Linked DNA regions of Homo sapiens: all the other regions are linked to region 2. Evidence: promoter capture Hi-C in 16 types of primary human blood cells and fetal thymus (Javierre and others, 2016). All regions are on one chromosome and are shown on one strand. The core of a region is centred on a gene start or on the middle of the fragment in contact, and the rest is flanking DNA. Distances in the headings are between cores, read along the strand shown.

What was found. The method cuts DNA at HindIII sites, captures the fragments that hold promoters and counts their contacts. A CHiCAGO score of 5 or more calls a contact.
Region 1: a contact is called between the fragment with the promoter of ZNF100 here and the fragment with the promoter of ATP13A1 in region 2, in 1 of 17 cell types (M0 macrophages). The highest score is 5.8, in M0 macrophages.
Region 3: a fragment that was not itself captured here is called in contact with the fragment with the promoter of ATP13A1 in region 2 in 1 of 17 cell types (monocytes); the score reaches 6.0 in monocytes.

What each region holds. Positions count from the first base shown.
Region 1 is chr19:21,766,148-21,768,847 of GRCh38, forward strand. It overlaps ZNF100 (zinc finger protein 100), which reads right to left and starts at 1,432. Exons shown (of 5, transcript NM_173531.4): 1 at 1,280-1,432. The coding sequence starts at 1,282. RefSeq lists a silencer at 1,419-1,596. The HindIII fragment of the contact is 10,466 bases long and covers 1-2,700 here.
Region 2 is chr19:19,662,337-19,665,036 of GRCh38, forward strand. It overlaps ATP13A1 (ATPase 13A1), which reads right to left and starts at 1,340. Exons shown (of 26, transcript NM_020410.3): 1 at 935-1,340. The coding sequence starts at 1,330. RefSeq lists enhancers at 507-556, 688-1,670, 942-1,043, 1,387-1,676 and silencers at 1,077-1,336, 1,777-1,826. The HindIII fragment of the contact is 4,289 bases long and covers 489-2,700 here.
Region 3 is chr19:21,828,589-21,831,288 of GRCh38, forward strand. The region is part of intron 1 of ZNF43 (zinc finger protein 43); the gene reads right to left. Among named protein-coding and RNA genes, the nearest start is that of ZNF43, 6.2 kb to the right of the region's middle. The HindIII fragment of the contact is 3,605 bases long and covers 1-2,700 here.

The sequences.
Region 1 (2,700 bases), core at 182-2,681, 2.1 Mb after region 2:
TATAAACAAGTACACTAAAGGACAAATAGGTGATAATGTGAATTAGGAAGGAAAAGTTGACATTTGGGAACGCCAGAAGAAATTGGAAATTTAGTATCTTACTGCAAGCCAGAGTGAGGCTGGAGAAATGGGGGACGGGGGTTAGACTTAACAACCTGCTTGGGACACAGGTGAAAAATGCAGCAGAAAATCAGTTCCCCGTGGAGTGTGAAAATAATTAAGAGACAGGCAATTCCACTGAGGTGTCTCTAGTCCCTGGGTTCCTACTTAAAAAAAAAAAAAATCTAACTCAGGTGCATTTTTTTTTTAATTACTACATTCAGAGAAAATGTAGGCTTAAACAACTATAAACTGTTAATTAACCTCTGATTACACAACCAGGAAATCTTCACCTGTATTGTACAAATCAAGAAACTACGTTACTGTAACCAATTACTAAATTTAGTTTTCTTCATCATACATTTTATAAATGACTTTCCTTCAAGCCTCTCCCATAGACAACAAACTACAAACCATAGCTGGATACTCTATGATTCTTGAATCACTGTTTGATTAAATTCTTTAGGCCAGGCGCGGTGGCTCACGCCTGTAATCCCAGCACTTTAGGAGGCCAAGGCGGGCGGATCACGAGGTCAGGAGTTCAAGACCAGCCTGGCCAACGAGGTGAAACCCCGTCCCAACTAAAAATACAAAAAAATAAGGCCGGCCCAGTGACAGGCGCCTGTAATCCCAGTTACTCGGGAGGCTGAGCCAGGAGAATCTCCAGAACCCGGGAGGCGGAGGTTGCAGTGAGGGGAGATCGCGCCACTAAACCCTAGCCTGGGCGACAGAGCGACTCCGTCTCAAACAAACAAAAAAATCGTTAATATTTGTGCAGTGACTCCCATACATTTTTAATAGGAGAAAAGAGGAACTGGGAAAGCCACGGACCAAAGATCTTCCCATTCATGAACCCGCACCCCGAGTCAGGATTTTCCCCTGACGACCCTCCCGTGGTCCCTGCACAATCTGAGAGAGACGCGGCGCTGCGGGTGCAGAGCTGCCAAGAGAGGGCTCCAGGCCAAGGCACAGTCACTACGCAGGGAAGAGAAAGGACGCCTGGGGTCCTGGCTGTCAGCGCAGCCGCCATCTTATGGCCGAAGGGGACGGAGGCCGAGCTGGGCAAGGCGCAGATTGTGAAGCTGACTGCGGAGAGGCCTGAGTCCCGCCACAGCTACTTCCCACCAGTTCCAACCAGCCCTTTCGCCGTCTCTCGGGATGTCGGACCGGGCACTCTCACCATTTCTAGGCTTCTAGGGGGTCCTGGCGTCTTAGCTGTGGATCTCCCAATATCTGCAGGTCAGAGGGCCACACAGGCTAGGCCCCTAGGAGCAGAAGACACAGAGAAGTGAGAGCAAAACCTGGAGCTCCGGCTACAGCGAGAGACAAAGACCCCGCCAAACCCGGAAGCCGTCCAGTCCGCTCCAGCTGCATGCCTGATTGGACGGTTTCCAGCCCAGCGTCCCTGGTTGGATAATGCTTAAATCCCCGCCCTGTCAGGCTTTGAGTGACAGAAGATGTGATCAGATGCGGGTTCAATGAAGAAAGAGTGACAGCCTAGACTGCCCCCTCTTCTGACAGGGCTTCCTCCCTCAGCTGAGCTAGGCCCATCCCAGAGAGTATTTGCCTTTAAATTTGTGTATAAGGTCATATGTATAAATAAATAATACATTATATAGCTATACACAAGTGAAAAGAATATAACAATTATTTTAAAATTTCAGCTTTTATGACCTTCCTGGCTTCTGGCCCTTTGAGCAGGCAGCCTGAGATTTTAGAAAAGAGAAAATCATCTAAAATGAATGTCAGCCACATGTGGATTTGAAATTTTCTAGTAGCCAAACTTTAAAAAGAAACAAGTTGAACTGATTGTTAACAATGTAATTCACCCATTATATTCAAAATATTATCATTTTAATGTGTGAGAAATATGTAATTATTGATAAAATATATAAATATTTGGAACTAAATCTTTGAAGCTGACTTTGTATTTTACCTTTCTAGCATATCGCATTTCAGACCAGGCACATTGTGGGAACCCAGTAGCCACACATGGACAATAGCTGTCACATTGAAGTGCAGCTCTGATGTCAGCGGTGTGAAGGGCCTGAACATCTCTTTCCTGCGAGAGTGAAAGAAGAGACTCTCCCTACAAACATCTCTCTTTGGTTCCTAGGGTGGACCAGATAGTTCCCATAGAAAGAGCTGAGGGCAGTAGGAATAAAATAGCCACAGGTAATAAACAACTGCTGGCCACCTGTTGCCCACCTTTCTTTTAGAGACCAGATAGTGAACAAAGGATGATGGGGCCACAGGAGAAAAAACAACTATGTCTTCAGTTCTGTCCACACACTTGAACTCCAGTATTTAGAGATGGAGAAAATAGATTAAAAACAAACATAGTTTGCTATATGGTCTTGGCCCTAACAATCAGGCTGTGTTTATCTGTTTTCTCCTGTGGTGTGGGGGACTATGTGAGTCTAAGCACCAATCACACGCATACATGTCTACAGGTATTTCTGCATTACCCAAAATTCTCTTACAAAACATCGAACTTTAAATCAGGGGAAGAAATCAGTACCTAGAGGGTGTCCACTGTTAGAAGCCAACTCTTAGTCAACCTGTCACTGAATCCTGGCAACTTATCTGTACTGGGTGCAT
Region 2 (2,700 bases), core at 90-2,589:
TTCTACCCACATTCAGAGCCAGCCAGGGTGGGGGGCTTCTGTCTTTCTGTAGCCCTTGATGCTGTTCCCTTTTCCTCTTCTTGAGGCAAACACACTCCTGGAATCAGAGGGGAAGCTTCCTGATATACCTCAGTGTCCATGGCTCCAAACCTGCTGGTGTCACCTGAGGCAGGCCCAGAGAGAGACGACACAGTCACTGCTTCAGGCCCAGGGAAGCTCACAGTCACCAACTCCTCCGACGACACTTGGTCACTCAGAACTCTAAACTGTGGGTCAGGAGCGCGACCTTGCTTGCTGTTGTATCCCCGACAGAACTCAGTATCACCACCCTCATTTTGCGGAAAGACATCATGTAAATGACTCGCTCATAAACACCTCTGCCTCTCTTCAACACTGTAATTAACTGCATTTCATGCTCCTTTCCATCACAGTATGGAAGACCACTAAGCACTGGACAGCAAGACTTGGTTCAGTCTAAGAACCAACTAAGCTTCATAGATGGGGGAAACCTATCCCAGTGATCTCGCCTTACACTTTGAAAACCAAGGTAGGAGACAGATGAGATGGAAGGTAGGGCCGTTTCCAGAACAAGAGTAGTCGCTAATATGGGAACTAGTATAAACAACTCCTACCTGACCTGGGCGACGTATGCTGGGCCCTGCGCTAAGCCTTTTACAAGTATTACATCACTGAATCTAAATGACCATAACAGGGAGGACTTCAGAAAAAGGAAATAACCCGCACCAGGCATGCACAGCAAGTCAGCAGTGGGGTCATGATTAAGCCTGCGCCAAAGTGTAGAGGGTGCCCCTGGGAATCCAGGCCAGGCAGATGAGTGGCCCAGGTCGCGATGGTGACCGACAGGAAGGCCGCAGCTGGGACCCACGGCGAGGCTCGACCGTGCTGGGGGTCGGGCTCGCGTGTACACACTTACCGGGGTGCAGGTGAGCGCGCAATGCGCGTGCACAGACCAATGCCCCGAGAGGACAGTGAGCGCGTGCGCGAGGCAGATGGTGGCAAGCACGAGCAGCGCAGCTTCGGGGATCTGCACCCAACTGCTGCCCCAGCCCCAGCAGCCAGCGGCTGCGGCACCCAACCAGGCCGGGTAAAGCAGCCCGGCGAATGGCAGCACCGTGAGGCGCCGCAACAGCGCCAACCGCCGGTACGGCCACACGGCAGCCACCAGCTCGTCACCGTTCGCTATGAGCGCCGGCCCGGCGGCAAGGAGCGCGCGCGGCTGCGGCCCGGGCTTGGGCTGCCCGTCAGGCCGGACCCCGCAAGGCCGGGCCCCGCAGGGCACCGCGTTGCCCACCGCCGCCGCTGCCGCCATCTTTCCTAGCGCCGCGCTCACTTCCGGGCAGAGGAACGCCTCACTTCCGAAGTTTTACTTCCGGTAAGCCCTGAGCGCCGCCATGGCAGCCTGGACTAGGAAGAGCCAGGGCAACAGAACAGGCTGGCCCCGGCAGGGACTACTTCGGGTGCCGCCATGACAGGCTGTGGCCGGAAGAAGAGGCTGGGCGTCGCCATGACAGAGAGGGACTGGAAGACCTAACGGTGCCTGCCTCCGCTGCCACGCCGGACTGAGACCGGAAAAGACAAGGCCGGCAAGGCGGGCTTGGGCGCCACCATGACAACCTGAACCAAAAAAAGCGAGCCCTCCTCCTTGACTACACCAGCACCACCTGTCACCAGGGGCGAAGCCTGGACCCTGCGGAGGCGGGGTCGGGAGCTTCGGAGTTCAGGAGGCGGGGCCCGGTGCGGGGGGCGGGGCTTGTGAGGGGCGGGGTCGGGGACCGCCCCGGAACACAACCACACCGGACAAGAGCCTTAATGTGATAGATAAGAATTACAAATACTAGCCGGGCGCGGTGGCTCACGCCTGTAATCCCAACACTTTGGGAGGCGAGGCGGGTGGATCACCTGAGATCAGGAGTTCAAGACCCAACATGGTGAAACCACGTCTCTACTAAAAATACAAAAATTAGCCGGGCGTGGTGGCACATGCCTGTAATCCCAGCTACTCGGGAGGATGAGGCAGGAGAATTGCTTGAGCCCGGGAGACGGAGGTTGCAGTGAGCCAAGATTGCTCCACTGCACTTCAGCCTGGCCAACAGAGCAAGACTGTCTCAAAAAAAAAAAAAAGAAAAATGAATTACAAAAACCACTTTAGGCCGGGCGCGGTGGCTCACGCCTGTAATCCCAGCACTTTGGGAGGCCGAGGTCAGGAGATCGAGACCATCCTGGCTAACGCGGTGAAACCCCGTCTCCACTAAAAATACAAAAAAAAAAAAAAAATTCTCCGGGCGTGGTGGCGGGCGCCTGTAGTCCCAGCTACTCCGGAGCCTGAGGCAGAATGGCGCGAACTGGAGAGGCAGAGCTTGCAGTGAGCGGAGATTGTGCCACTGCCCTCCAGCCTGGGCGACAGAGCGAGACTCTGTCTCCAAAAAAAAAAAAAAAAAAAAAAAGAAATTACCACTTTAACATAAAAAATGAAAAACTGGTGTTTACTTGAAATTATATACTTCTAGGCCGGGCGCGGTGGCTCACCCCTGTAATTCCAGCACTTTGGGAGGCCGAGGCGGGCGGATCACGAGTTCAGGAGATCGAGACCGTCCTGGCTAACACAGTGAAACCCCGTCTCTACTAAAAATACAAAAAATTAGCCGGGCGTGGTTGCAGGCGCCTGTAGTCCCAGCTACT
Region 3 (2,700 bases), core at 26-2,525, 2.2 Mb after region 2:
TGCCTGTAACCCCAGCTACTCAGGAGGCTGAGGCAGGAGAATCACTTGAACCCAGTAGGCGGAGGTTGCAGTAAGCTGAGATCATGCCATTGTACTCCAGCCTGGGCAACAGGAGTGAAACTCCGTCTCAAAAAAAGTAAATTTAAGGAAAAAAAAAAAATACAGCCGGACGCGGTGGCTCACGCCTGTAATCCCAGCACTTTGGGAGGCCGCAGCGAGCAGATCACGAGGTCAGGAGATCGAGACCATCCTGGCTAACACGGTGAAACCCCGTCTCTACTAAAAATACAAAAAAATAGCCGGGTGCCCTGGCGGGCGCCTATACTCCCAGCTACTTGGGAGGCTGAGCCAGGAGAATGGCGTGAACCAGGGAGGCGGAGATCGCAGTGAGCCAAAATGGCGCCACTGCACTCCAGCCTGGGCGAAAGAGAGAGACTCTGTCTCAAAAAAAAAAAAAAAAAAAAAAAAAAAAAAAAATTAGCCGGACGTGGTGGCACGTGCCTGTAGTCCCAGCTACTCCAGCTACTCAGGAGGCTAAGGCAGGAGAATCGCTTGAACCCATGAGGCAGAGGTCACAGTGAACCGAGATCGTGCCACTGCACTCGAGCCTGGGTGACAGAGTGAGACTCCATCACAAAGGAAAAAAAAACAAAAAACACCACACACAAAAAAAACTACACAGACTCCAAGGTTGAGTTTACACACTGAACTGTTCTTGCTTTTGCAGTGTAAGTACTTCAGCCTGCAAATATTAGATTACCTTGGATTATCAGTTTTCTGTCAAAGAAATTTATTCAGTATTTTTTAGTTTTTACCATTCTGTATTTCTAAATTTAATTCGTTCTTCGTACTAAACTTCTGTGTGCTCTTAAAATGAGCTTTAATCTAAACAAATCTGTGTCTACTTTAAAAGACTAAAAAAAAAATTAAATTTTCCCAAATCAAGGATAAGCAATGAATCTGAGGTCTTAAATAAAGACAATCTTGAGTCAAAAGAATGCCAAAAGATTTGGCTGTTAATATGATTTAAATATATTTCAAAAAAGCAATAAAAATATCTCCATATAATCTAAATGCTTTAAGATAAAAGAGTTGAACAAGATAGTCTCTCTTATTTTCAGGTAGGATAATAAAGCCTCTGATTTATATTTTCTTTTACAACAGCCAGGTCTCTGGACATATTGAACTCTTGAACATCTGAATTTCAGTAGACATTGGATTCATTGAGCTCCGTCTCAAAAAACAAAAAAACACAAAACCTGACATCATAAAAGAACAAGAGAAGAAAAAGCAAACTGACCTCTAAGCTAACAGAGGACAAGAAATGAAAATCAGATCTGAACTGGAGAGTTAGACAAAAAAATGATAAAAATATGGAGAAGGCTGGGTGCAGTGGCTCACCCCTGTAATCGCAGCATTTTGGGAGGCCGAGGTGGGCAGATCACTTGAGGTCTGGAGTTCGAGACCAGCCTGGCAAAATAGTGAAACCCGGTCTCTACTAAAAATACAAAAATTGGCCATGTGTATTGGTGGGCACCTGTAATCCCAGCTACTCAGGAGGCTGAGGCAGGAGAATTGCTTGAACCAGGGAGGCGGAGGTTGCAGTGAGGCGGAGGTTGCAGTGAGGCAAGGTTGTGCCACTGCACTCCAGCCTGGGCAATAGAGAGAGATTCTGTTTCAAAAACAAAATGAAAAAAAAAAACAAAACAAAAAACAAACAAACAAACAAAAAAAGAAATCCAGGAGTAAAATCTTTGAAAGAATTAATAAGATAAATAGCACTCTAGAGAGATTAATGAAGAAAGAGAAGATCCAAATAAACACGATTAGAAATGACAAAATGGCCATTAACACTGACCCAACAACAACAAAATAATTATTCAAGTCTGTAACGAACACCTCTATGTAAACAAACCGGAAAATCTAGAATAGATCAATTCCTAGACACGTACATCCTCCAAAGACTGAAAAAAAAAAAAAAAGTATCCCTGAAGAGACCAACAAGATTCAAAATTGAAGTATAATAAATAGCCTAGAAACCAATAAAAAACCAGAATCAGACATATTCACAAAAGAATTCTACCAGATGTACAAAAAAAAAAAAGCTGATACCATTCTTACTAGAGCCATTCCAAAAAATTGAGAAGGAACTCTTCCCCAACTCATTACATAATAGCATTATTCTGATACCAAAACCTGGTATAAAACAAAAAAAGAAAACTTCATGCCAATGATCTTAATAAAAAATGATGGAAAAATTCTCAACAAAATACTGGCAAACTGAATCCAGCAGCACATCAAAAAGCTAATCTACTATGATCAAGTAGCCTATATCCCTGGGATGCAAGGTTATTTCAACATACACAAATCAATAAATGTGATTAATCACATAAACAGAACTAAAGACCAAAACCACAAGATTATCTCAATAGATGCAGAAAAATCTTTCAAGAAAATTTAACATTCTTCATGTTAAAACCCTCAACGAACTAGGCATTAAAGGTACATACTTCAAAATAATGAGTTATCTGTCACAAACTCAAAGCCAATACACTGAATGGACACACAGAAGTTGGAAGCATTTCTCTTTGAAAACTGGCACAAGACAAAGATGCCTTCTCTCATCACTCCTATTCAACATAGCATTGGAAATACTGGACAGAGCAATCAGGCAAGATAAAGAGAAAGAAAGTCAGACTA